Linked DNA regions of Homo sapiens: regions 1, 3, 4, 5 and 6 are each linked to region 2. Evidence: promoter capture Hi-C in human tissues and cell types (Jung and others, 2019). All regions are on one chromosome and are shown on one strand. Each heading gives the region's core, a stretch centred on a gene start or on the middle of the fragment in contact. The rest is flanking DNA. Distances are from core to core; before and after follow the strand shown. Region 1 overlaps SLAIN1 (SLAIN motif family member 1). Region 2 holds the start of SCEL (sciellin). Region 3 has its middle 16 kb from the start of SLAIN1. Region 4 overlaps SLAIN1 (SLAIN motif family member 1). Region 5 has its middle 33 kb from the start of MYCBP2. Region 6 overlaps MYCBP2 (MYC binding protein 2).

What was found. The method cuts DNA at HindIII sites, captures the fragments that hold promoters and counts their contacts. A contact is called where the count stands out against the background at its distance.
Region 1: a contact is called between a fragment that was not itself captured here and the fragment with the promoter of SCEL in region 2, in 2 of the 25 tissues and cell types used here (dorsolateral prefrontal cortex and lymphoblastoid cells).
Region 3: a fragment that was not itself captured here is called in contact with the fragment with the promoter of SCEL in region 2 in 3 of the 25 tissues and cell types used here (dorsolateral prefrontal cortex, heart right ventricle and thymus).
Region 4: a contact is called between a fragment that was not itself captured here and the fragment with the promoter of SCEL in region 2, in 6 of the 25 tissues and cell types used here (H1 embryonic stem cells, heart right ventricle, lymphoblastoid cells and 3 more).
Region 5: a contact is called between a fragment that was not itself captured here and the fragment with the promoter of SCEL in region 2, in 2 of the 25 tissues and cell types used here (liver and thymus).
Region 6: a contact is called between a fragment that was not itself captured here and the fragment with the promoter of SCEL in region 2, in 3 of the 25 tissues and cell types used here (H1 embryonic stem cells, heart right ventricle and lymphoblastoid cells).

Annotation. Positions count from the first base shown.
Region 1 is chr13:77,726,544-77,731,006 of GRCh38, forward strand. The region is part of intron 2 of SLAIN1 (SLAIN motif family member 1); the gene reads left to right. Among named protein-coding and RNA genes, the nearest start is that of MIR3665, 31 kb to the left of the region's middle. The HindIII fragment of the contact is 4,515 bases long and covers 1-4,037 here.
Region 2 is chr13:77,534,204-77,538,829 of GRCh38, forward strand. It overlaps SCEL (sciellin), which reads left to right and starts at 1,503. Exons shown (of 33, transcript NM_144777.3): 1 at 1,503-1,621. The HindIII fragment of the contact is 8,761 bases long and covers 1-4,626 here.
Region 3 is chr13:77,679,994-77,684,213 of GRCh38, forward strand. No RefSeq gene overlaps it. Among named protein-coding and RNA genes, the nearest start is that of SLAIN1, 16 kb to the right of the region's middle. The HindIII fragment of the contact is 4,030 bases long and covers 135-4,164 here.
Region 4 is chr13:77,749,086-77,753,454 of GRCh38, forward strand. It overlaps SLAIN1 (SLAIN motif family member 1), which reads left to right. Exons shown (of 7, transcript NM_001242868.2): 5 at 4,118-4,273. Among named protein-coding and RNA genes, the nearest start is that of MIR3665, 53 kb to the left of the region's middle. The HindIII fragment of the contact is 4,059 bases long and covers 50-4,108 here.
Region 5 is chr13:77,358,115-77,362,687 of GRCh38, forward strand. No RefSeq gene overlaps it. Among named protein-coding and RNA genes, the nearest start is that of MYCBP2, 33 kb to the left of the region's middle. The HindIII fragment of the contact is 5,637 bases long and covers 1-4,573 here.
Region 6 is chr13:77,297,506-77,302,213 of GRCh38, forward strand. All of the region lies in intron 1 of MYCBP2 (MYC binding protein 2), which reads right to left. Among named protein-coding and RNA genes, the nearest start is that of MYCBP2, 27 kb to the right of the region's middle. The HindIII fragment of the contact is 4,931 bases long and covers 550-4,708 here.

The DNA.
Region 1 (4,463 bases), core at 530-3,029, 190 kb after region 2:
TAGCTTCCCAAGTAGCTGGGACTGCAGATGTATGCCACCATACCTGGCAAATTTTTTGCAGGGTCAGGATTTTGCCATGTTGCCCAGGCTGATATTGAACTCCTGGGCTCAAGCAATCTGCCCACCTGGCCTCCCTGTGCTGGGATTATAGGCATGAGCCACTGTGCTTGGCCCTAAGAAACTTTTTATTATAAATTGCAAAACTTACTATCCTCTTTTCCAAGCTGATCTTTTAATATTCAGATTTTACAATTTATAAAGTCTTGTGTATCATGTAGTCAGCACAGTCAAGTTACTTAAGTTTTCTCAGCCTCTTTTACATTTGTATTTATTTTGTAGTGTTGTTATAAGGAAATAGATATTTGTAAATTAGATGAGATAATGGCTCAAATATTAGGTGTCTCCCCCTTATATGTGAATAGTGTAAATGGCTTTTTTGGATAATTTACAGAAAGTAATGTTAAAAGTGAAATAACATTGCTGGAAATTAAAATCTCCTGGCATCTCTAAATCTGCAGTCTGTTGGTATAAAGTTAACTAATAAAGCCTAGAATAGAATAATCTTTCTCTTTTTTCCCCCAGAACACTGGCCACTTATTTGAGTATGCAGTCTTCAACAAAGCTCAGTATCTTGGTTGGTTTTCCTCTTTTGAAGATGGTCCTAACGATGTTTGCTTTCTATTTCGAGGCACCCTGTTTTGTGAACTTCTTTTTATTTAGTTGTTAATGTATGTGACTTTTTCCAAATAGATTAAGCATCTGAAGATGGAGGTCTATACCTAAAATTGTTTTTTGAATTGCCAGTGCTTAATAAATTTTTCAGCATGTTTTAAGTACTGAATTTTTTTTGTGTGATTGACTAATTTGAGTATGTTTAAATTTTTTAAGTTGGGCAAAAAAAAAAACAAAACAATTTTCATTGAACATTTGGTGTTGTAAATGGCATCCTACTAGCCAAGCCAAAAAAAAAAAACAAAAACCCTCAAAAAACCAAAACAGAGTGGTGTTCATTAAAGTGTTAGTTCTGAGCGTGGGGGTTTCAGTCTGTTTTGTTCATTGCTGTGACCCTTTCTGTGCCTGGAATAACTCCCATCGCACTGTAGGTGTTGTATGCTAGTTGTTGAAGGAGTGAATATGGTGGAAGTTTTCACCTTAATAGTTATGCCTCATCCCTGCTCCACTGTGATTGAGATGGTTGTCCTTATTTCTAGGGCCTTGCCTAGTAAGTGGGGACATTTAGCAGATTTCACAGGGCTATTTTAGAAAGATTTCTGGAAATATTGGATGTGAAATTACTTCAGAAATGTGGAGTACTACATATACAGAAACATTCCTAATGTACAGATTTTCATTTAGAAATTGAACATAAAATACAGGGAATCCTCTTTGCCTGGCTACTTATACTTCATAGAAAACTAAGTGTGTTTTTGGCAGAGGGTGGGTATCTGTTTTCTCTACCTACAAATACAGGTATTTGTTAGGGATCTTACACTGAAAAATTTTGTAAGTGTAGTTTATTATTCAACATAGAAAATCTACAACAATCTCTTTAGTTGGTTGTTTTTATTTTATTTTTTATTAGATCTGTGTGTATTCCATTTCTAACTCGCCCATCTTTCTAACCCCCCTCTACCCCTTTAGAATAAAAATAACAAAACTGCATAGAACTTTCATGGGTAGGATTAGCTCACTTGATATCCTAAATTGAAATAAGGCTAATCTAGGGTCTTTGGTAAATTCACGCATGAGGCTGGGATGTTAAATAACCAAATAATGATCAAAGGCTTATCTAAGTAATTTGAAACGCCCAAAATGTGGCTCAGTTAATTTGGGGCCAGTTAATAAAAGCTTATCTTGGCTTAAGGTACTTGAATGTCTATAACTATTGAATCAGGACAGGTCACATTTGAGCAGAGTAGGTGTACTTTTCACAAATAGTGGAGGCCTACACAATTATATCCTTGGCTCATGTTTCGCTATGACCATCTGTCATTTCCTCTGGGATTAGATACTAAGGAAATGTGAATAGAAATTACCCCATTCATTGAGTTTTTCTTTTATCTTCATATGGTACCAGTTCCCAATCTTATTTTAGTTGTTATAAAGGAGTGTTAATGTCCAAATTTAGCTGATGAAGAAGAAAGTTGTAGACTAATCCACAGTTCTGCGAGTGACCCTTTCTTTTGTTAAAATCCACACAGATTGAACTGAGACATTAAGCTTATCAAATGTCTGTCTTCTGGAACCTGTCCAGTCTCTCCTTGCTTGGCCCAAGATGTTATCTCCACTAGCTCATATTTCTAGTCTCGAGATGCTCTGTCAAACTTGGAACACAAAATTAAAACTTAGTCTGTGAGGTTCATTTTGGGTAAGCTTTGTAAAGAATTTCTTTTCTCACTGGAAAAACAATCTGGAATCATATTGGAATTTTTGTGCAGAGACAGGGTCTCCTGATACATGCTATCATTCCTGTGTGCTGAAAATGGAAAATGCATTGTCATAGCTGTGGGATTTCATCACATCTTTATGTTGCTTTGCTCTTATGTTCAGAATAGCCCCAGTGCATTTACTTCAGTATTGGCAATGATTTAGTACAGTAACAGATAATAAGGGATTGTGCTTCTATGAAATTTGCAGTTTCAGTCCATTATACCCTACAACCTGATATGTGTTTGCCAAATTTCCTTAAGTAATCCTTTTTTCTTTTGCTAATTTGTACTTGTGTTTCCATGTGTTTTTTTTTCCTTTGGTTTCACTTTGCATTTCTACCATGATTCGAAAAGTGTTTTTCAAAATAAACAATAATGGTTGTTCTGGTGAATTTATTATTGACATGCTATTTTGTTACCTATCTCCACCAAGGAAAAAATAAAACAATAGAGATTCTCCCAAAGTAGTTGTCTACTGCTTTCATACTACTGTGACGGTTGATTAAATTTGACTCTATCATAGTGAAATTCTTTTTTTTTTTTTGGTAGGTGTTGGTACCTGTTTCTTGGGACCTCTACAGAATAGTCAGGTTTAAAGCAAGACTTTCTAGACTCTCTTTTCTGAAACACTGGGGCTTGATCAGATGATTACAATACATGAAATGTGTTGAGTACTTATTAGGTACAGTCAGTGCTAAATACAGGGTGCAGTGGCAAGCAAGATGAGCTCAGTGCCTGGCCTTGGGAACATGCATTCTGATGCAAAAAACAGATGACAAGATAGCAGTTCTTTGTTCTTCCTGTCCCATAAAAGAAGCATAATGATGCGAATGGCAGCCTGACCCAGGGGTATGATCAGAAAATGATTTCCCAAAGACGTGAGGCATCAGCTGGGACCGGAGAGTCAGTGGGAGTTAAGCCAGTAACTCTGTGTGTGTGTGTGTGTGTCCGTGTGTCCATCTGTTCGTCCATCCAACGGGAGGAGGAGGTGAGGAAGAGTGTCCCAGGCCTTTTCTGTCACTAGGATAAGCCATAACTCAAAGAAGAGTCTTTCAGTCTCAGAGACATTGGAGAGGAAGGATAGCAATAGCATGTGGAAAGGCCCTGCAGTGGGACATAATGTGAGGAAACGGCAGGCTGTTGTGGTTGGGGTGTAATGGAGGGAAATGACTCTAAATGAAACTAGAAACTAGACATGTGTGCAGCGTCTTCAGGGCAGTTAAAGATTCTGGATTTTATCTTAAAATGGTTGAAAAACCTTTGAATAATTTTTAGTAAAGGAGTGATGTAACTGAACAGCTAAGCTACAGGATATTACCTGAATTGTCTTAGAAGGCAGAGCCTTTTTTGGAAATCTGGTGAACTGTGGAGAGTGAAATGGTGGTTTTAGAAATTCTTTGGAACATGGGTAAGGTTAGGCTTTAGCAATTTTTAAGGGAGAGTCTTAGATAAACTTGGGAATGTTTTCTTCTTTTTCATTAATATCCCAAATTTCTTATGTGACTAATGTGAGAAATGGTAGATGAAAATGTGGCCAAGTTCTCGTGACACTTAATTTACTTCGGAAACATAAGGGTTTGATTTGTTGATGTTCTCAATTATTTATAATATTTGGGAGCTTTAAACTTCTATATAGTAATAAGTTTAATATATTTGAGTTTTGGAGCTCTTGTCAATTTGTGAGTTTAATTTTTTTCTACTGTCATAGTTGTAAGGTTGTATTTCAAGAAACAGTGTATTTAAATTTACTAGGCTTTTGAAATGCAGATTTGCTGTCATCGGGTGTGTCCTGTACTTGTGTATATGTATTTGCATATGCATGCTCAGTCTGGTCTTCCATTTTTATAGCATTTTCAGATAAATGAAGTTGGATCAGTAAAAGGATACCTGCTGGGAAAACAAGCAATTAAATCATAAGTTTTTTGGTCATTTTTAATTTCTTAGACATATTGAAGGAAGAATGGACAGGGCTAAGAACCAAGCTGCTTCTCTGAAAGTTGGCCAAAGGAATCTACCAAAATGGGATGGAAAATA
Region 2 (4,626 bases), core at 253-2,752:
TAGAATGGCTCTTCAGTGTTACTCCTTCCTCCCAGCGGAAGCAGCCTTTGTTTTTTGTTGGGTTTTTTTTGTTTTTTTTGTCTGTTTGTTTTGTTTTTTGAGATAGGGTCTCACTCTGTCACCCATACTGGAATGCGGTGGTGTGATCACAGCTCACTGTGGCTTGGTCCTCCCATGCTCAAGAGACTCTCTTTGCCTCAGCCTCCTGAGTAACTGGGACCAAAGACATGCACTACCACACCCAGCTGATTTTTTTATTTTTAGTAGAGATGAGATCTTCTCTTACTGTGTTGCCCAGTTTGTCTCGAACTTCTTGGCTCAAGTGATCCTCCCACCTTGGCCTCCCAAAGTGCAAGTGAAAGCCACTGCAACTGGCCAGAAGCAGCCTTTGATGTTGGGTCTACTGCTGCCCTCAGCATTGAAAGAAGTTTCAACCATCCTTTTCACATTTTTTTTTTTTTTCTGAGACAGTCTCACTCTGTTGCCTAGGCTAGAGTGCAGTGGTGTGATCTTGGCTCACTGTAACCTCCACTTCCCTGGTTCAAGTGATTCTCCTGCCTCCTCCTGCCAGAGTGGATGAATGGTTCTTCTTCTTCTTGACCATCTAATCATTGTCCACTCAGACTTTAAAACTCTGCATCAACATCACCTTCCAGGTTCTTCCTTCTCTCCACTATGCGATGCCTGGCATTGAAAATTTCTGTATATGACTTTATCATGGTGTGTTATAGTTATTTAATATAGCTGGGGTTACAGGTGTGTGCCATCACGCCCAGCTAATTTTTATATTTTTAGTAGAGATCAGGTTTTACCATGTTGGCCAGGCTGATCTTGAACTGCTGACCTCAGGTGATCCGCCTGCTTCCACCGCCCAAAGTCCTGGGATTACAGATGTGAGCCACCACGCCTGGCCCCTTTTCACATTTTTTTATACATGGATAAATAAGATAGAGATTAGAATTCTTACATGCTAGGTGTATTTTCCCTCTGATAGTTTTACAAAATAGTCTAGGTGTAGAATGTGTGGAACAGACTTCTTTTGTGTTTTCTAATCCTAGGGTTCCTGGGTTTCTGAGAATTTGTTTGTCTTGAAGATTCCTTTAAGCCATATACTCCTTGCATGCTTGTCTGTGCCCCTGCCTTCCAGGTACTATGGGTGTATGGGGGTTCCTTCTATCTTGAGTTTTCAATTTTATTTTTTGAAAGAGAATACAAAATAGGTTGGGTCCTATGCCACCTTGTCAGTGATATGGTTGTGCATACTGTTGATATCAGTTAAAAGGGTGATCACAGGAGCATATATATATATATGTTTTTTTTTTTTTTGCATAAGGCCATAAGTTAAACAAAGAATTCAAACAAAGACAGTAGGTATATGAGTGAGAATGCTTTAATTGAACTGGTATTTGTACAAGGTGACACCCTGTTGCATACCACACACCTCCTCCCTGAGTGACTCAGCCGCTGAGCAAGAAACCTCTGAACTGTTCACTAATACAGTCAGGTAGAGGTTGAGACTCCACTGAATAAACTCTAGGTTCCCATTTCTTTCAGCCAGATCCTCCCAGGGAATCACTACAGGCTGGTTAGCCAAAAAGTCCTGATTTTCTGCTCAATAGAGGTAAGTTGAATTATACTTGCAAACAGAAATACATCTGCTGTATGTGCACAGCTTTCTCTGTGTTCCTTACAAATGATTAAAATTAGAACTTACTGTATTATCTTTGTCTTTTCTTCCTGTAAATTTTGACAGCCTCCAGCTGGCTGTTAGCTCTGCTCTTCCTTGCTGTACTTTTAGGTCACATTGCATTGAACTTCTTGGCAATTTTACACGTTATGGGCATCACAGAAACGAGCACCTATTTGATTTTCTGGGTGGGAGCTGTCAGCTGGTGAATCCTGCCACACAAAGGATAATAAATTCTTTAAGTGAAGGGACCAGCACCTGCTGGTTTATTTTCTCAAGCGACTATACAAACATTTTTTAAAGGATCTTTCTGTTTTCATAAATGATGCTTTTAGTGAAATAGTGAACTCAAATATTGCTTTATAGTTAATAAGTCATATTTATTTTTTTCTCTACTGCTAAAAATATTGCAAGTTGCTGAGCTATGAGAGAGAGAGAGGTTTATATTTATGAGGTTTTTGTCTCCACCCTATCTTCCCCAAATAAGAAAATCACCATTTCTCACTTGAAAGTACCAAGGAGTAAAGGCAGGGTGTGGGAGCAGAATAAGGGTACATGGTTCCTCACAGGGATCTGTGGGCATCTGGCCAACTTCTCTATGGTATATTCTGCATTCTAACCTAAGGAGTGATTAATGTATATGGGGGCAATTTTCAAACTTTATTCATAGCCTAGTCCTGAAAAACCAGTTTTGGGAGACTTTTGATAAGGCTAGAAGAGTTCTTTTAACAGAGCTTTCTTTTATAATTAATAGCTAAGCTGACTTGTGTTTTTTCTCATCATTTCTATTTATGATACAGAGCTGTGGGATTCAAATGCAGGGGCCACTCACAGCTTGCAAATTGCAGCTCTGTGTCCTCCAGAGAGGTGCCCCCACAGCATACCTGGCTCTATCTGTAGTACTTGAGTTCTCATGGCTTCCTATTGCTGACAAGGTCACCTGCAGTCTGAGAGGGGGTTAGACACACCAGTGCTCATTTCCCAAAGGTTTACAGAAGAATTTTACAACTTGGCTTTCAAGTGTTTATAGTAACCAGAAAACTAAAGTGTAGCAAGTGTGGATAATTTTATTTTTCATAAAATGTGATTACATTTAAAACTGTCTTTCACTTCCATAGTTTATAACGTAGATAAAGCCTTCCTAATATATGTGGTGCTCCAGTGTTTAAAGTATTGGAAACATCAATTTGAGAAAACTGAGAAATGACAACAGTAAAAATTTTAGTAAAACATTCAGATGATCCTAAATGTCGGGATATGCATAGAATGCCAACAACAGGCCAGAATTTTTATTGGAATGTTAGCGTCGTATAAATCTTAGATCTAATTGACAGAATATTTCAACTGAAACGGAGCATAGGCCCATCTAGTCTAATGCCTGAATTTTCTAGTTGAGAAAATCAAAGCATAAATGTTAAGCAACTTGTGAAGATCAGAGTAGCAGAACCAGAGCACGATGCCAGATTGCTTGTCTTTTGTCTTACTGAATTTTCTCAATATTTTTTCAAATGCTTTTTATCATAAAATATGTAGTAGCAATAAATGAGCCACACTCCATCACAGACTGTGGTTACCCAGCACATGTGGAAATATTATAGTGTGTATGGTATGACTAAGACATAATAGAATACGTTTTCCAACTTGTGGCTTATGGAATCAGTGTTGCCGTTTATTATATTTATGAGATTTTCATCTCAGGAGCCAGTAGCCCCTCAGCAGGGAGGGGATCTGATGTATGTGTGTTAGCTGTGGTCTGTACAATCAGAACACCCTTGCCTCGAATGCCATTCTGTAGGTGATGCTTACCTGACTGCCTTCTCAGACTACCAGAATTATGATGAAATACCTGAGAGGTTCATATTCCTGGGGACTATGTAAACAAAACAAATTTTGAATGACTGAGCTCATACTGTGGAATGAACTGAACACAATTCACGAAGCCGTCAAATTAAGCAAACATTGTTTAACTGAGAGTATCTTATACGGTTCAGGCATCAACTCCCAGCATTTCTTAAGAGTGAGGGGATAAAATCTTTGGCCTTGCAGTCCAAGGGAAATCTTTATTGGTTCCATATGGCTTCGCTTTCTGTCATTGTCCTGCTTCTAGACCATTTGTTGATCATTTTCCATTTTCTTTGGCTGGGTACTTTGAAATAAAGATTTTAGGTATTAATTGCTGCATACATAGCTGGAGTTGTTCAAAGCTCACTTCTGAATCAAAAGTCTTTTTTTTTTTTTTTTTTTTAAATGGAGTCTCGCTCTTTTCCCCAGTCTGGAGTGCGATGGCACAATCTCGGGTTACTGCAGCCTCCGCCTCCCATGTTCCAGCGATTCTCCTGCCTCAGCTTCCTGAGTAGCTGGGAGTACACGTGTGCACCACCACACCCGACTAATTTTTCTATTTTTAGTATAGACGGGGTTTCACCATGTTGGCCAGGCTGGTCTTGAACTCCTGACCTCAAGTGATGTACCCGCCTTGGTCTCCCAAAGTGCTGGGATTACAGGCATAGCCAATGCGCCCGGCCTTAATCAAAAGTCTTTATCAGTTATATTCCTTAAGTGTTTCCAGCTTACCATTGTACAAATGGTAAACTGTGATTTTTTTCCATGAACTTGTGATTTTGAAGCTCGGGAGAAGCTCTTCCTCACATGGATGCTTTGCCAAATGACAGCTACACGTACTAGACTTTCATTTCATGTCGATTACTAAATTTTTTAAGGACATGAGTCATCCTTTTATTGTGATACTTAATTGGAACAGTGAATTTTATAGCTACCTATTCAATGACAACTGGTTTACTTCTAGATACAAGAACTGATCATCCTGAATCCTCCTTGTAATAGTATACTTGATAGCTCTAAAAATCTGAATAATTTATTCTTTGTCTGTAGACCCAAGTTTCCCTGACTCTAAAATGTGATTACGTATCCTTCATATG
Region 3 (4,220 bases), core at 900-3,399, 150 kb after region 2:
GATCTTCACCATTGAATACACCCAGAAGCAATGCCAAATGGCTCTACTCAACATATATCATAATCACATCCTCAAGGAAAAAAGGTCCCACCCCAATGAAAGTAATTTCAAAAATAAGCAACTGTTTAGATGAAAATAAATAATCATATTAAGAAGTAAGGTATTATGACAACACAGTAATTCTCCAGAAATAAATCCTAACCAAAAAGAAATCCTAAAAAATGCCAGATAAAGAATTCAAAATAGTGATTTTAAAGAAGCTCAGTGAGATGCAAGAGAAATCTGAAAACCATTACAAAGAAATCAGAAAATCAATTCAAAATATGAACAAGAAATTTACCAAAGGGATAGATATCTTAAAAAACAAACAAAACTCCTGGAAAAGAAAAATTCGTTGAAGTAATTACAAAATACTTCTAAAAGCTTCGACAGTAGACTAGACCAGGCAGGAGAAAGAGACACAGAACTTGAAGACAGGTCTTTTGAATTAATCCAGTCAAAGAAAAATAAATAAAACAGTATTTAAAAGAATAAAAAAAAAACCTTCAAAAAGTATGGGACTACATAAAGTGACAAAACTTACAATCCTTTGGTATTCCTGAGGGATTAAAAAAAAGCAAAAAGTTTAGAAAAACTACTTAAGGAAACAATTGATGAAAACTTCCCTAGTCTAGCATGAGATTTAAACATCCAGGTATAGGATGCCCAAAGATCACAAGCAAAACACATCGCAGAATAGACTTTGCCAGGACATATAGGAATCAGACTGTCTAAGTCAATATGAAGAAAAAAATCCTAAAATTGCGAGTGTCTAGTTACCTACAAAGGAAACCCATCAAACTACAGCAGATTTCTCATTAGAAACCTTCCATACCAGAAGAGAATGGTATGCTGTTTTCAAAGTGCTAAAAGAAAAAAGAAAAAAAAACAAAAACAAAACTATCAGTCATGAATTTTATATCCAGCTAAAAGAAGCTTCATAAATGAAGGGGAAATAAGGTCATTCCCAGATAAGCAAACACTGAGAGAATTCATAACCACTAGAGTGGACCTACAGGAAATGCTAAAGGAGTCCAATATATTGAAACAAAAAGGTGATATTTGCCATTATAAAAATACACGAAAGTAAACACTCTCAGGTCTTATACAACAATTACAAATCACAGGAGGAAGATAGGGGAATCAAATGGCACTATGACAGAACTCCACCAAACCACTGAGCAAACAGAGAAAAAAAAATAGAATTTACCAGATAACTAGATAACAATGAACAATATGACAGGAATAAAACCTTATCTATCAATATTAACATTGAATGCAAATGGATTAAGTGCTCCACTTAAAAGATATATATTGGCAGAATGAATTTAAAAACATGATCTAACTATATACCACTTACAAGAAACTCATCTTATTGGTTAAAAATATAGATACATTGAAAGTAGAGGGGTGGAAAAATATATTCAACACATATGGAAACCAAAACTGAGCAGGAGTAGCTATACTTATACAGATAAAACAGATTTCAATTCAAAACAGTAAAAAACAAACAAACAAAAAAGAAAGGCATTATAAAATTATAAAGGATATATTCAATAAGAGAATAAAATAATCCTAAATATGTATGCTTCAAACACCATAGCACCCAGATTCATAAAACAAATATTACTAGACCTAAAGAATAAGGTGCAATAATAGTGGGGGACTTCAATACCTTACTGACAGCACTAGACAGATCATTGAGACAGAAAATCAACAAAGAAACACTCTACTTAAATTAGACTTTTGACCAAATTGACCTAATAGATATATACAGAACGTTTTCCCCAACAATTGTAGAATATACATTCTTCTCATTGGCACATGGAACATTCTCAAAGACAGACCATATATTAAGCCACAAAAGTCTCCATAAATTGAAAAAAATTAAAATCATATCAAGTATCTTCCCAAACGACAGCAGAATAAAACTAGAAATCAATACCAAGAGGAACTCTGGAAACTATACGAATACATGAAAATTAAACAACATACTCCTGAAGGAACTTTGGGTCCATGATGAAATTAAGACAGAAATTTAAAAATTTTTGAAATGAATGACACACAACATATCAATACCTCTAGGATACAGCAAGAGCAGTACTAAGATACAAGTTTATAGTGTCAAATGTCTACATAAAAATAGAAAGATTACAAATTAACAACCTAATGTTGAACTTCAAGGAATTATAAAACCAAAAACAAACCAAACCTAAAGCTAGCTGAAGAAAAGAAATAACAAAGAACAGAGCAGAATTAAATGACATTGAGACAAAAAAATACAAATATAAAAAAATACAAAAGTTGGTTCTTTGAAAAGATAAACAAAATTGATATACCACTAGCTAGACTAACCAAGAAGAGAGAAGATCCAGATTAACATAATCAGAAATGAAAAAAGAGACATTACAACGAATACCCCAGAAATACAAAATATTATCAGTGACTACTATGCACAACTATATGCTCATAACCCAGCAAATCTAGAGAAAATGGATAAATTCCTGGAAACATACAACCTCCCAAGACTGAACCAGGAAGAAATACAAATTCTATACAGATCAATAATGAGTAGTGAGATTGAATTAGTAATAAAAAAATCTTCCAACAAAAAAGAAGCCCAGAACCAGATAGATTCACAACCAAATTCTATTAAGCAAATAAAGAAGAAATGGTACCAATCCTGCTGAAATTTTCCCCAAAAATTACATAAGAAGGGAATTTTCCCTAACTCATTCTTTTTTTTTTTTTTTTTTTTTTTTTTTACTAATAACAGGATGGTTTATTATACAGGATACAGTGTTCAACATACTTTCCTTATAATTCTTACCTTGACTTGCTAGTTAACGAATATATAGTTTTAATTTTTTCATTGGTAAAATGGGAAGGCAATACTTATTATTAATACATTGAATGAAAGCATTTGTATCCAATACTCAATAAATTATAACAAGAATTATATCACTATTTTCAATATCAGGAAGATGAGTTTTAGAAAGCTTATATAAGGACTATGAGTTTTCAGTAGAACTGCAGAGATTTTATCCTTATGGAAGATTAAGGTATGTGTCTCCTGTGTGTCCTAAGCACAAGATTAAATAAATTGTATTTCTTCATCACAGATCCATTAAAACTAATGCTTTAGAAGTACATTTGTTACCATGGAAAGATGTTTCTTTTTTTATTATTATTATTATACTTTAAGTTTTAGGGTACATGTGCACAATGTGCAGGTTAGTTACATATGTATACATGTGCCATGCTGGTGCACTGCACCCACTAACTCATCATCTAGCATTAGGTATATCTCCCAATGCTATCCCTCCCCCCTACCCCCACCCCACAACAGTCCCCAGAGTGTGATGTTCCCCTTCCTGTGTCCATGTGTTCTCATTGTTCAATTCCCATCTATGAGTGAGAATATGCGGTGTTTGGTTTTTTGTTCTTGCGATAGTTTACTGAGAATGATGATTTCCAATTTCATCCAAGTCCTTACAAAGGACATGAACTCATCATTTTTTATGGCTGCATAGTATTCCATGGTGTATATGTGCCACATTTTCTTAATCCAGTCTATCATTGTTGGACATTTGGGTTGGTTCCAAGTCTTTGCTATTGTGAATAATGCCGCAATAAACATACGTGTGCATGTGTCTTTATAGCAGCATGATTTATAGTCCTTTGGGTATATACCCAGTAATGGGATGGCTGGGTCAAATGGTACTTCCAGTTCTAGATCCCTGAGGAATCGCAACACTGACTTCCACAATGGTTGAACTAGTTTACAGTCCCACCAACAGTGTAAAAGTGTTCCTATTTCTCCACATCCTCTCCAGGACCTGTTGTTTCCTGACTTTTTAATGATTGCCATTCTAACTGGTGTGAGATGGTATCTCATTGTGGTTTTGATTTGCATTTCTCTGATGGCCAGTGATGATGAGCATTTTTTCATGTGTTTTTTGGCTGCATAAATGTCTTCTTTTGAGAAGTGTCTGTTCATGTCCTTCGCCCACCTTTTGATGGGGTTGTTTGTTTTTTCTTGTAAATTGGTTTGAGTTCATTGTAGATTCTGGATATTAGCCCTTTGTCAGATGAGTAGGTTGCGAAAATTTTCTCCCATTTTGTAGGTTGCCTGTTCACTCTGATGGTAGTTTCTTTTGCTGTGTAGAAGCTCTTAAATT
Region 4 (4,369 bases), core at 829-3,328, 220 kb after region 2:
GAAATAAGAATGGTAACTTTGAAGCTAATCTATTAAATATTTTTCTAAATTATCAAAATAATATAGATAGAAAATAATTGTAAACTGTTGATTCATTTTAAAATAATTGAGAATAAACTAGAAATGTATATTAATATTTACTGCTTTTGTAGTTCCTACACTGCCTAGATTTAAAGAGATGGTTCATAAAACTTTCTGGGATATTTCTGAGATTCATAGAATTAAAAGAAGCATAACTGGAATAACTTGCTAAATATCAAAATGACTCAACTTGTAGAATCTTTACCAACTTTTTTATAATTCTACGGTATGGCAGGGGTTACTGGAGGCATGATGTAGTCCTTATTATCATGAGGACCTCCCCTGGAGCCTGTGTTGCCTGGATGCCTAGATCTAGCTGTTTGGTGGACAATGAGTGTCTCCTTTAGTCCTAAAGATTCCTGAGTCTTTGTTCATAGAGTGATGAGTCTTGCTGCCTCTTTAATGTGAGCAAGCTCATTTGAATTCTTTACTTGGTCTATTCTTCCAGTTTCCTGCTGCATCTCAGCCCTTGAAGATTAAACTGCTGATTTCTTGTGAAGATAGAACTAGAACATTACTTTTGGTTCCCTGAACTTTAAAGAATATGTGGTTATTAAAACGTTCCACATTGTTTGACAGGAAATGTACCTCATTTCCAGATGGTCTGACACAAGTTGGAGATCACAGCTTTGTTCCAAGGGGAATAGTGTCCTAAATATTTACACTTGGAAGACCTTATTTTTAAGAGCATATTTCAGGATTAAAGCTTTGTGAAACTGACTTGTTGCTTAAATATGAGTAAAGATTGGTTTTAAAGACTAACACAGATTAGAGGCATAGCCAAATGTAACGTATGGACCTTGATTGGATCGTGGTTTAGAGGAAAAAGCTTGTGAAAGATATTCTTGGGATGTCTGAAAAATTTTGTATGCAGATTATCATATGATATTGTTAATTTGTTTACATGTGATTACAATATTGTGATTCCATAGAATTTTCTCAGGAGATCAATATGCATTTAAAGTGTCAAGATGTCTGAAGTTTTATCTTGTTTAGCAAAGCAAACAAAAGTACATGTGGAGATGAATTAAATATGGCAAAATGGAAACAACCAGTATAGCCAGGTGGAAAAACAGGTGTTTATGATACTATTTTTTAACATTTCTATATGTATGAAAACTATTATAGTAAATAGTTGGAGAGAGATTTTAAAAAGAAATATAGAAGCTCAATTAATTTTCTCAATAGCATATAATTATGTTCCTGTGCCTCCCTGCTGCTTAAAAATATATGTATTGGAAATATGTATAGTGAAAATAGTCTAGTACTGATAGAGGCTGTCTTTTTTACACCAGTTTTTGTAATAGTCAAAAGATCTAGATATGGCCACTAAGATTATGTAGAGATGAATCCTTCTAATTCCTCCCTTCTTACTACACACTGTCTGCCAAATCATACACATAATATTTGCTGATATATAAAGTACCTGCTCTGTGAGGCTGGGAACTTTAATAGGAATTTGGGAATACGAGACGTATGATTGTTAAAAATAGGCATCAAGAAGATAATGAGGAAAATTGCCAAGGAATCTAACAGTCAGTGGCAATATTTGAGCATCCTTACTCTAGAACTACACACAGAAAGTAATGTGTGAGAGGTAGATACTTCCAGCTGGGAAGTCCATAGAAAAGCTTCTCTATGGTGGGGATAATTGTGCCAATTCTTAAAGTATTAGTAAGACCCACATGAGTAAAATATTCTTTTGTGCTTTCTACCATAGCACTCTCTACAATTTTTTATGCTCTCTTATTATACATATTATCTAAGTATACTTATTGTGCTTGTTTAATCTTCTGCCTTTTCCACCCCAAGGGAGCAAAAATTGCTGGACATGGCAACATTTAATAGGTGTTAGTAATGTCAAAGGAGTAGTGTATGAAAGGGGAATAAGAAGAGCTGAGTTTGATTTTGACTTGAATGCCTTTTGGATTAGCATTCAAGTATATCATTATTTTCTGGTTTTGCTTGAAAGAAAATGACCACAAGATTGAATGCTCTGATATGTGCACTTTAGTGTTTTGCGGTATATATCAATAAAGATAAAAATATCTTGTAAGTTGGAGGGGTGAAAAAAATTTTAGATATTACAATGATTTATGATCTTCCATGGTTTACCCCTATCAAAATGTTAATCTTTAATATTTATTTTATTTGGGAAAAAATTTAATTTTAAGTTTAATTAAATTTATTTTAGATTTTCTCTTTAGGATCAACAATGGGTGGGGAAGGATTGAGAAGCACTGGTCTAGACTATAAACCTAGACCATAAATCTTGACTATAAACTCAATGAGACTCTGGACTGTATCTGCCTAATACACTGTGGTATCCCCAACAGCTCACAGAGTGTCTGGTATTTAGTGTAAACACAATAGATGTTTGTTCCCTTGTTCATTTGTTCCTTCTCCAAAGTGAGGTTGGGTGTCCACATGGAGGGACCAGCCTGCTCACAGGTATGAGAGAGTTCACCCCTGTGGTCGGGGAGCAGGCTGAGAGGCCAGGCTGGAGAAGTATAAAGAGCCTGGGCCTTGAAGCCCTCATCTGGGCTGTGCTCAGGAGCTTGGCCTTTCAGAAGAGGGAGCAGGGGAGGAATTGAGGAGTTGGAGGGATTTCAGCAAGTGGGTGACGCATGCTGTGCTCTAGGAAGAGTGGAATCGAGTACTTGAATTAGTTTTGTCCTTGAATTAGTTATGGCTTAGTACTCGTATATATGCTTTTTTTTTCAGTTTAAATGACCTGACATAGGTACTTTAGTTTTTGGGGGATGTGTATTGATCAAGGAAAAAGTGTCTCATAGAGTTGTGGTCTTGTGGCTGGCTTATTTCACATGTGTTATTTCACACATCTCAACATTGAGATCTGTATGTGACTCTCTGCTGCCTCTTGGTGGCAGAAGATGAACTTAGCAAGGCAAAAAAATTGAAGCATTCTCTTGGTCTTTTTTATCTGCAAACATTTGGTGGCGTACTCATGAAAGTTAAAACTTTCCAGAGATTAATGTGGTCATGTTAATGTGATGAGTGGATATTTCAAGACATCTGAAGTTTGAATTTTATTAATTTGTTCCATTTTGATATGGTAGCAAAAGATTCAGTAAATGTTGGTTTTGATTCTTCTAGGGTTCTTTTTTTTTTTTTTTTTTAAGAAGCATGTAACTTAATTTCTAGGGTTGTTTTGGTAAATTTAATGGCTATAAGATTATTTTCTAACTTTTTAAATATAGTTTTAGCCACTTATTGAATAGGAACAGATAGCTAACTGCTTAGCTAGTCCCTAAGTCTTTTTATAGAAGTTTCGTTCTCCTTTAACACATTGTATTAGTTAGGGTTCTCTAGAGGGACAGAACTAACAGGATAAATGTATATATGAAGGGGCATTGATTAAGGAGTATTGACTCACACGATCACAAGGTGAGGTCCCATGATAGGCTGTCTGCAAGCTGAGGAGCAAGGAAGACAGTCGGAGTCCCAAATCCTCAAAAGTAGGGAAGCCGCCAGTGCAGCCTTCAGTCTGTGGCCAAAGGCCTGAGAGATCCTGGCAAACCACTGATGTAAGTCCAAGAGTCCACAAGCTGAAGAACTTGGAGTCTGATGCTCGAGGGTAGGAAGCATCCAGCACAGGAGAAAGGTGAAGTCTGCTCCTTCTGCATTCTTCTGCGCTTTTATCCTAGCCATGCTGGCAGCTGATTAGATGGTGCCTATCCAGATGGAGGGTGGGTCTACCCCTCCCAGTCCACTGACTCAAATGTTAATCTCCTTTGGCAACACCCTCACAGACACACCCAGGAGCAATGCTTTACATCCTTCAATCCAATCAAGTTGGCACTCAATATTAACCATCACACATGCTTATTTGGTGGGAACCCTTCTGGTTGGGAAGGGTGTTTTCCTGTACAATAGGTTAGAAAGCTTGATCATCAACATGTAATAATTTGTATTTATTATTGAGCACAATATGACTTTTGTTATTTGCTTTTGAAAGCTAGTACTTTGGTTGCATAACATCTGTCATTTTTAACTTAGTAAAATTCTTTTCCAGATAAGCTCCGAAGAAGTATGCCTAACCTAGCCCGGATGCCAAGTACAACTGCCATTAGTAGCAACATTAGTTCTCCGGTCACCGTGCGAAATAGTCAGAGTTTTGACTCAAGCTTGCATGGAGCTGGAAATGGAATTTCAAGAATACAATCTTGTAGTGAGTATAATTATTTGATATAATTATATATTGTATAATTGTATAATTTTTTATAATTTTTAATTGTAAGGAAAATGTCTGTTTTATTTCTTTGTA
Region 5 (4,573 bases), core at 985-3,484, 180 kb before region 2:
TAGCTAAATGCATTTGCTGCCTTTTGCAAGCTTTGCTAACTTGAAACCTCCCTTCTCCTTATACACTTCCTCAAAGGTGAGATAAGAAAATCACTAATGCTCGGCCTTGGTTACCAACTGTGCTAGATGATATTTCTGCACACTATAGCCAAATGGCAGCCTCTTTCTATTGTCTGTAGTGAATCCATCTTCTGGTCATTCAGCCAAGGTGCAGCCTCACTTTGAGGAGCAAACATAGCTCTAAGGGCTGACACATCTGTATCACAGTTTTTGCTACCAATAACATAGCCTGATACATTATCATTACAGTGGCATGACTTGGAGAAATATAGGATTTTGCTTTGGTATTTGTCAGTTACACTTTATATTTTATTTTTTATTTTTATTTTTATTTTTTGGGGACAGAATCTCACTCTGTTGCCCAGGCTGGAGTGCAGTGGCTCAATGTCAGCTCACTGCAACTTCCACCTCCTGGGTTCAAGCGATTCTCCTGCCTCAGCCACCTGGGTGGCTGGGATTACAGGCACGAGCCACCACGTCTGGCTAATTTGTATATTTTAGTAGAGACAGGGTTTCACCATATTGGCCAGGCTGGTCTTGAACTCCTGGCCTCAAGTGATCCTCCTGCCTCAGCCTCCCAAAGTGCTGGGATTATAGGTGTGAGCCACCTCGCCTGGCAGTTACACCTTATTTTGCAGTTATTTTTGTATTTGGCTAATTCTACTCACCATCCTTCCAACACTGTAACTCTCAGAGGGCAGAGATGTGTCTCACTTATTACTCTATTCCTGCAGAGAGTTCATGTGAATATTTGTTTTAGGAAATTGAGTTAAATCATCCTGTTTTTAGTTTGAGTTATTTGAAAATAACTAATAACTCCATATTGATTTTAAAAAACTAACTCTATAATGATGTGGAAATATAGATCCATGTTTTACAGTCCTTAGATTTCTTCTAATGTCTGGTTTAAATTCTCTCTGCTGTAATTTCTATCTGCCACATGGGACTGAGGATAATTGTTTTGTATCATTTGTACACAAACCTTTTTAATACTCAAAAACAAGACTTAATCCTTCTTAAACCTTCTTTATTTCAGTTCATATAAATTCACTTCCTTTACTCACTCCTTACTACCAAATTTTAAATTATATCTGTCCTTTTATGATGAACCTCCTCCAGGTTCCTATGCAAAACTTTATGAACGTTCTGACTAATGCATAGTTGTTTGCACAGTGGTAAGTCATTTGCATACTTGTGGAATCCAGAGATCAACAGAATCATGAAAACAAGAGCAAACTTTGGACGTGAAAGAAATCATTAAAGGCCAAATCATTTCCCACGTCACCCCTCTAGGTAGAAAATTGGGTAATAGAGGGTTTGTTTAATATGATGCCTTTTTGTTAGTCATCTTGTGAACCTAATAGAGGAACTATTTCTGTTCTTCTAGTGTATTGAGATAAGTAGCAAGAAAGTGCCAATTCAAATTTTGTGAAATAAATGAAATTTTCTACCAGATTATGTTTTGAAGGACAGATTCAGTCAACAAGCTCTGTTTAACATATATGAAGATAATGAAATTGATTCACTGAACCATGCAGTTAGAATGTGGTTTTAATACCGTCAGTGATCCAAATATATGTTTACCCTGGGATTATAGCATGAACACTCAAAATCTCTGTGCCCTAATCAGTGGTGTGTGACCAAACTACAGCAAAACCATTGATTTAAACTATACTTTAAAAGTTTGGTGTGATACCAAACTACAGCAAAACCATTGATTTAAACTATAGTTTAGAAGTTTGGTGTGATACCAAACTACAGCAAAACCATTGATTTGGCCACTAAAATAGACAAAAAGGTATCCATGGCCTCATTAGTTCCAAGCTCTAATAAACTACCCAGAAATAACTGACAAAAGGCAAAATCTTCCATATGACCTTCCAATATTTTCTCTCTGGCATGGCAAAAGAGAATACAAACTTCTTTTGAGCCTGTTGATTTGGGGATTTGACTTTATTGTGAAGCAGCAACCCTATTTTTTGTTAGTGCCAGTCATTCTAGCTAAGTTTACCCAGGGGACGTGAAGAGCCCCGAATCACTGGTGGTAATTGAGTCAAACTGTATTAGTAACCACAATGTGAGCCTGCAGTGAACAGAAAATTCCACTCACAGTGGCTTACTTATGTAGAGATTGAGGTGTCTCACACAAAAAGGTATCCACAGTAGGTGAGGAATTGGTGTAACAGCTCAGCATTTTCCTTTGTATTTGTCTACTATTCTTACATTATTTTTATTCCCATGCTCATGTTTGCCTTATTGTCACTTGATGGTGGCTACACTGTAAGCCCTGTAGTCACATACCATTCGTGATGAAGAAACAGGAAGAAGGAAGAAGAAGCACCAGAAGTCATCTGCATTTTCTTCTCCTTTTCCTTTTCTTCTTCATACATACACAAAAGCAGGAATATTGATATTGTAAATCCCCAGATTCAACTACTATCAGCATTTTGCCAATCTAGTTTCATCAGTTCCCTTCTGGCTTTAACAAGTATATAATAAAGCAAATCCCAGACGTCATATCATTTCATCCATAAATATTTTAGAATGGATCTCTAACATTTTAAGATAACAATAATATCACTATATCACATAAAATCAACAATAATTTCTTTCTTTCTTCTTTCTTTCTTTCTTTCTTTCTTTCTTTCTTTCTTTCTTTCTATCTCTCTCTTTTTTTTTTTTTTGAGACTTGCTTTGTCACTAGACTGGAGTGCAGTGGCACCATCTTGGCTTAGGCTCACTGCAACCTCCGCCTCTTGGGTTCAGGTGATTCCTCTGCCTCAGCCTCCCAAGTAGCTGGGACTACAGGCACATGCCACCACGCCTGGCTAATTTTTTTTTTTTTGTGGATTTTAGTAGAGATGGGGTTTCACCATGTTGGCCAGGATGGTCTCGATATCCTGACCTCGTGATCCGCCTGCCTCAGCCTCCCAAAGTGCTAGGATTACGGGCGTGGGCCACCATGCCAGGCCTAAAGTCAACAATAATTTCTTAATGTCACCTTGTACCTAGAACATAATCAAATCCTCCTAATTTTCTCAAGTGTTTGGATCAGGAGCCAAACAATGTTGGTTGCTAAGTCTCTTGTAATTTATTGTGATATAGATCCCTCTTATTTTTATGTCATTTACTTGTTCAAAATTTTTTTTTTAAAAGAATTTCCCACATCCTGGAAGTGGCTTTATGTTTTATTTTACACATTCCTGTAGGGACTTGGCTAAATATGTGAATAAATACAGTCTCATTTTTGGGGTGAAAAGTATTTCAGAGATGGTGATGATCCTATTGTCTTACATCAGGAGGCTCATACTGGCCGATGGTCTCATTTTTCCAATGCCAGGACTGATCAGTGAGTTCATGTGTGATCAGCCTGATCCATCCACTGTAAATCCCCCACCCATATTTCATCTAACAGTTTTGACACTTATTCTTTTATTTTATTTTCTCTTCTTCTCCTTCTCCTTCTCCTTCTTCTGAGACAGGGTCTCACTCCATCACTCAGGCTGGAGTACAGTGGCAGGATAATAGCTCACTGCAACCTTGAACTCAGGGGCTCAAGCAATTCTCCTATCTCAGCCTCCCGAGTAGATGGGACTACAGGCCCACGCCACCATGCGTGGCTAATTTAAAAACATGTTTTTTTTATTTGTTTGTTTGTTTTTTGATAGAGATGGGGGTCTATGTTGTCCAGGCTGATCTCGAACTCCTGGACTCGAATGATCCTCCTGCCTCAGGCTCCCAAAAGTCTGGAATTACATGCATAAGCCACTGTGTCTGGCCAATTTTGGCACTTATTAATAATCAAGTCTTAGGTCTCTTTTGCCATTTTGGAATTGAAATGTGATGATTTTCTAATTCTTTCATTCTTTCTGTATTTATTAACAGAAACTCTTCTATGAAGAGAGCTCTTTATCAATCATTTGTTTACCAGAAAAATAAAATACATACAAGAAAGACAGAATAAATGTTTTATGTGTCCCTTTATCTATTTTTTATGGTAATAAGTTATGTCCTAGCCACTTCTACTGATAAGCCATGGGATGATTTTCTTCTAGCATTATCATTGACGATTTCATTTGTATATATATGTTGTGTTTTTAGTAATTTGAGTCATTCTTTTTGATCCCAAATGATGTAATCTTTGGACAATGAGAGACCATTCAAGTTGGCTCCTGTGACCTTCTGGCATCCCATTAGCCTTTGACAGATTCCTTGCCTCCTGATACAAGGAAGGACATTCATTTTTTACATTTCTTTACTCAGCTCTACTATTGGTCATTGTTCCAAGGTGCCCTTGTTCATTTTAGTGGGTACTAGGGTGCTCATTGCTACTGGGCTTGTCATTGTTCCTGGGTCTTTTCAGTGGATAGAATTAGGAATGTGTACTTTTTTTTTCCAAGAAAAAATACATCATGAATTCTAACATACAGTTGTCTTGATAAATTTCCATCTGTCCTTTTGAAAAAGGCTAATAGATTTGAGATGTGTACTTTTCATGTTGTACTAATTAGAA
Region 6 (4,708 bases), core at 1,765-4,264, 240 kb before region 2:
TTCCAGATGCTGAAGGGGTCAAGTCCTTAAGATTTGGTAACTAATTTAGTAACAGCAGTGACAAAAGAGAAAAATTTTAAGCCTAGGTCACTTGGAGGTAGACAATGTCACTCTTAAAAATAGAGAAGTTAGAAGGAAGAGTTAGCCTGCTGGAAAAAAAGTAATGGGTTTGATTTTGAAGATGTGTAACTTCAAAATACCAAAATGTCAACAAATAGACAAGAGTAACAAGCAGATGAAAATGTTATCCTTGACATTGCCTTCAGTTTCACTCTTGAAATCAAAATAATCACAAAATCTGGTCAATTATATCTCATAAACAGTTATTGAATCTGTCCACACCATCTTTACTGCTGCAATGCTAATAAGCTAGGTTACCACCACCTCTTACCTGGACCACTGCAAAAGCTTAACTCATTTCTGCACATCCATACCCTTCAATCCATTCTTCACATAGGAACCTAACTCAACTTTTAAAGACACAAACCTGAGTGGATAATTCCCCAGCTTAAAAATCAGTATCTTCTCAATTCTCTTAAGATAAAGTCCAAAAGCACCGACATCGTTTAAAAGATCCTCTTCCAATAACTGACCTCCATCAATCTCTCCTGCCTCATTTTGCATTCTTTTCCACCTGATTCATCATACTCCAGCAAGAAGGATATTCTTTCAGTTGTCTGAACCTGTTAAGCTTCATCACAACTTTCACAAAGGTTTTCCCTCTTCCTGAAATTCTCTACCACGTCTTCTCCTGCTAACCACTACTTATCTTCGAGGTCTCAGCATAAGTGTCACTTAAGTCTAACTCCCCACACTGGATGAGTTTCCCTAATATACACTCTCATTCATCGTATATTTATGTTTCATTGTACAGCCAATAACTGTAATTATGTATGGAACTGTTTAATGTATTGCTTCCTCGCCAAGCTAAAAGCTCCAATAGTGCAGGGGCCCTGTCTTTCTTGTTCACTACTCTAGCCTCTGTCCAGAAAAGTTCCTGGGATATAGTACTCAACGAGTATTTTAAGAGAAAGAGAAAGTATAAGAGAAAGAGTGAGGAAGGGGAGAAATGAGGAAGTTGAGAGCTACAGCTACATGCCTTACTCAGAGATTAAAATAAGGTATCTACATCTATGGTATCGACATGAGTGCATTTAAAGCATCTCTAGCCAGAAAGGCCCACTAAGGAGTTATCCTTGGGATTATTTTGCACAGACTTTAGTACAAAGGAGGTCATGGAAACTATGTATGTGGATGAGATTTCCACAAGATAGTATGCCATAAAAGTAAAGAGAAAGAGAAAGATTAACAGTGCCAAATGCTAAACATAAATACATATACCTGCTTATAGAATCTACTCAACTACTAGCATTGTGAGGGCATGATGAATGTCTATTTCAACTGTGTACTTTCAGCACCTGCATCAATGTGAAGCATCAGGGATGGTCAATAAATATCAGATGAACAAATAAATAAATAAAACACAATACGTATTCTTCATACTATTTAGGAAACCAACTTTCCTTTATATTAAAGATTACCTGAGTGAAATCAGGTATTTGAGCAACAGGAATACATAACTACTAAGAGGTTAGCCCCTTCTATATAACTTATAAAAGCATCAAAATTTATTCCAAACCAATTTTCAGAGAAGTAGAATATATAAATCCAAATTCAGATAGATTTCCTAAAGACAAGTTATAACTGACTCAAATTTTCCCAATTAGAGACCAATGTTTGTGTCTGTTTTATCTAATGGAACTTCTTTAAAGTTCAAATGACTTTACGTACATTTCTAAAATACTTCTTTCTATGCATGATGGCATTTAATTGGTTGTAACAATTCTTATGAATCTGAACCCATCAATTCTTAAGTACAGGCCATCCAAGAACTAGCTATTCCCAAATTAATTATAAATTACTTTTACTGTGTTTTTTGTTGTTGTTGTTGATTTGGTTTGCAGAGGAAGAGGTAGAAGTTTTCTAAAAGAGCCAGTAATAAGTTGAAAATTATATAAACAAAATTTGTATTCAACATTGGAAAATTTAAAAATGCCATTTGCTAGTAATATAACACACCATTATATCTCTATATTTGAGAACTAAGCTTAAACCTTTCACAATATCTGAGGATGGGAATATAAAAGAGAAACTCTAAAAACCAGTCTTACACATTAACAATTTAACTTGGAATTTCTGATGATTTAGGGCTTTATATTCTAAATCAATCGAAGCTTAATGAAGAATGTCTGGAATTGGTCCTGTAAGACTTTCAGTCTTCTCACAAAAATAACTTCATATCCATCAGATTTGAAAGAATTGTGGTTGACAATAAAAGGAAAAGGCTATTAACATGCCTTAAATATTTATCTTAAAATATTTACTTTAAAAATTCCAAAAATATTTTCTTAAGAGCTACACTGCTTAAGAAAAATCAAATACTTCTGCAATATAAGAACAAATCAATTTTGCAAATTATTCAGTGATATAGATCAATAGTTTCTCTATCAGCTTATTACTGAGTATACTTTATACCAAAAATGTAGTCATAATTTTAAAACCTCTTTCACTCAAATCTGCTTCATTTGCAAAATAAAGAGATGAAGGAGACTGAGGTTCCTTGTAAATCCTCTAAAATGCTAAGATTTTAATAAATCCAAATTTACAGAACTTCTGGAATAAAATGGTTTCAATCTTTTGCTTAATTTCTCTTAGTAATAAGAAATAAAAAATTCCTGAGCCTGTGATGTAAAGCAGGAATAGGGAAATTTTTTCTGCAAAGGGCCACACAGCAAATATTTTACACTTTGTGAGTCACAAGATCTCTGTTGCAACTACTCAATGGTTACAGCACGAAAGCAGCCATCGGCAGCACATAAAGAGAGGAGTGTGCATATATTACAATAAAACTTCCAAATTTCACATAATGCTCACAAAACATTCTCTTCCTTTTTTATTTTCTTTTCAACCTTTTAAAAATGTAAAAACCACTTTTAGTTCACAGGCTACATAAAAACAAGAATTGGGCCTCATTGGTCTGTGGGTCTTTGTTTGCTCGCCCCAGATCTGGGGCATATTTTGATAAACAGGCCCATATCAGAAAGGAAAAAAATGCTTTATAGCTATGAGTATGCAACACAGATAAAACTATTCAAAACATCACTATGCTTATAAAAATAAGCACTCCTAAAATTATCTGCCTTTTCTTTTTATAAAGATAAACTTCTGACTTCCACTTCCCTAAAGTAAGTGATTAGATAGGAGGCAGGCCAATGCGCCTGCTTCAAAGACCAGACTAACCAACGTAAGAAAGCTGTGGAAGCAATGAGGACTAAAAGAACAAAAAATCCAGAGGTGGAAGAGCACTTCCAAGGCAGCTGAGACCACTGGCTTGTTCTTCCATGGGGGTAACTGCAGAGCTTGGGCATGAGTAAGGACTGAGCTTGGCTTAAGCAGAGGAACTCTAATAAAGGAAACAAGAGACTAGTAGTGCTTTAGATGCCCATGTGGGCTGAAATGACAGACTGGAATCTAGAAAAGCTCTAGATACATAGACAGCTTTCCCAGTGGTATATCTCCTCAGAAATGTAACTGGAACACTGAAGGATGATAGAGAGGCTGGGTCAAGGCTGGGCGCGGTGGCTCACACCTGTAATACCAGCACTTTGGGAAGCTGAGGCGGGCAGATTACTTGAGGTCAGGAGTTCGAGACCAGCTTGGCCAACATGGTGAAACCCCGTCTCTACTAAAAATGCAAAAAATTAGCTGGGTATGGTGGTGCACGCCTGCAATCCCAGCAACTAGGGAGGCGGAGGCAGGAGAATCGCTTGAACCTGGAAGGCAGAGGTTGTGACGAGCCAAGAGCCAAGATCGCGCCACTGCACTCCAGCCTGGGCTACAGAGCAAGACTCCATCTCAAAAAAAAAAAAAAAAAAAAAAAAAAAGAGGCTGGGTCAAAAGGGAAGAGAAAACTTCCGTAAGAAGACAGAATCCTAGTAGAGGGAGGGAGCGGTCTATGTAATCCCTCACTGGATTGAGATAATCAAACTCCTCATTCTATCTGTCTGACACAGCAAAGAGCACACCTCTCTAGGAGAAAACACATGATCTGAAAGAAAATCATGTTCATTCATACACAGTGTTAGTCTAGTTCGGGGACACTAAGTAAACACATTAAGGGACATCAAAAGAAGCAAAATATGTGGCAGACACATAATCAAGAGAAAACCAGAAAATTAGTCAGACTCACAGAAAACCCAGATATTAACGTTAGGAGGCAAGTACCTGAGATGCAGAGATTAACAATATGTGTAAAATAATGCAATTGGCAATTTTCAACATAATTTATAAAAAAAGAACCAAGTGGACATTCTGAAACTGAAAAATAAACATCTGAAATTAAGAACTTCTCATATGATTTTAAAAGCAGAGTAAGTTACAGAAAAACAGGTTTCACAGACTTGCAAACAGGCCAAAAATAAATAAATAAATAAATAACAGAATTCAATCACGGAAACAAAAATGGGATGAACCAAACAGAGAACGAGACATGTGGGACAAAGTCAGATGGTCTCATATTCATATAATTGGAATCCCAGAAAGAGAGAAAAAAGAATGGAACAAAAGCAATATATGACAAGATAATTACTGACAATTTCCCAAAAGTGAAGAAAGAAATCAACTGAGAGATTCAAGAAACTCAGGGAAC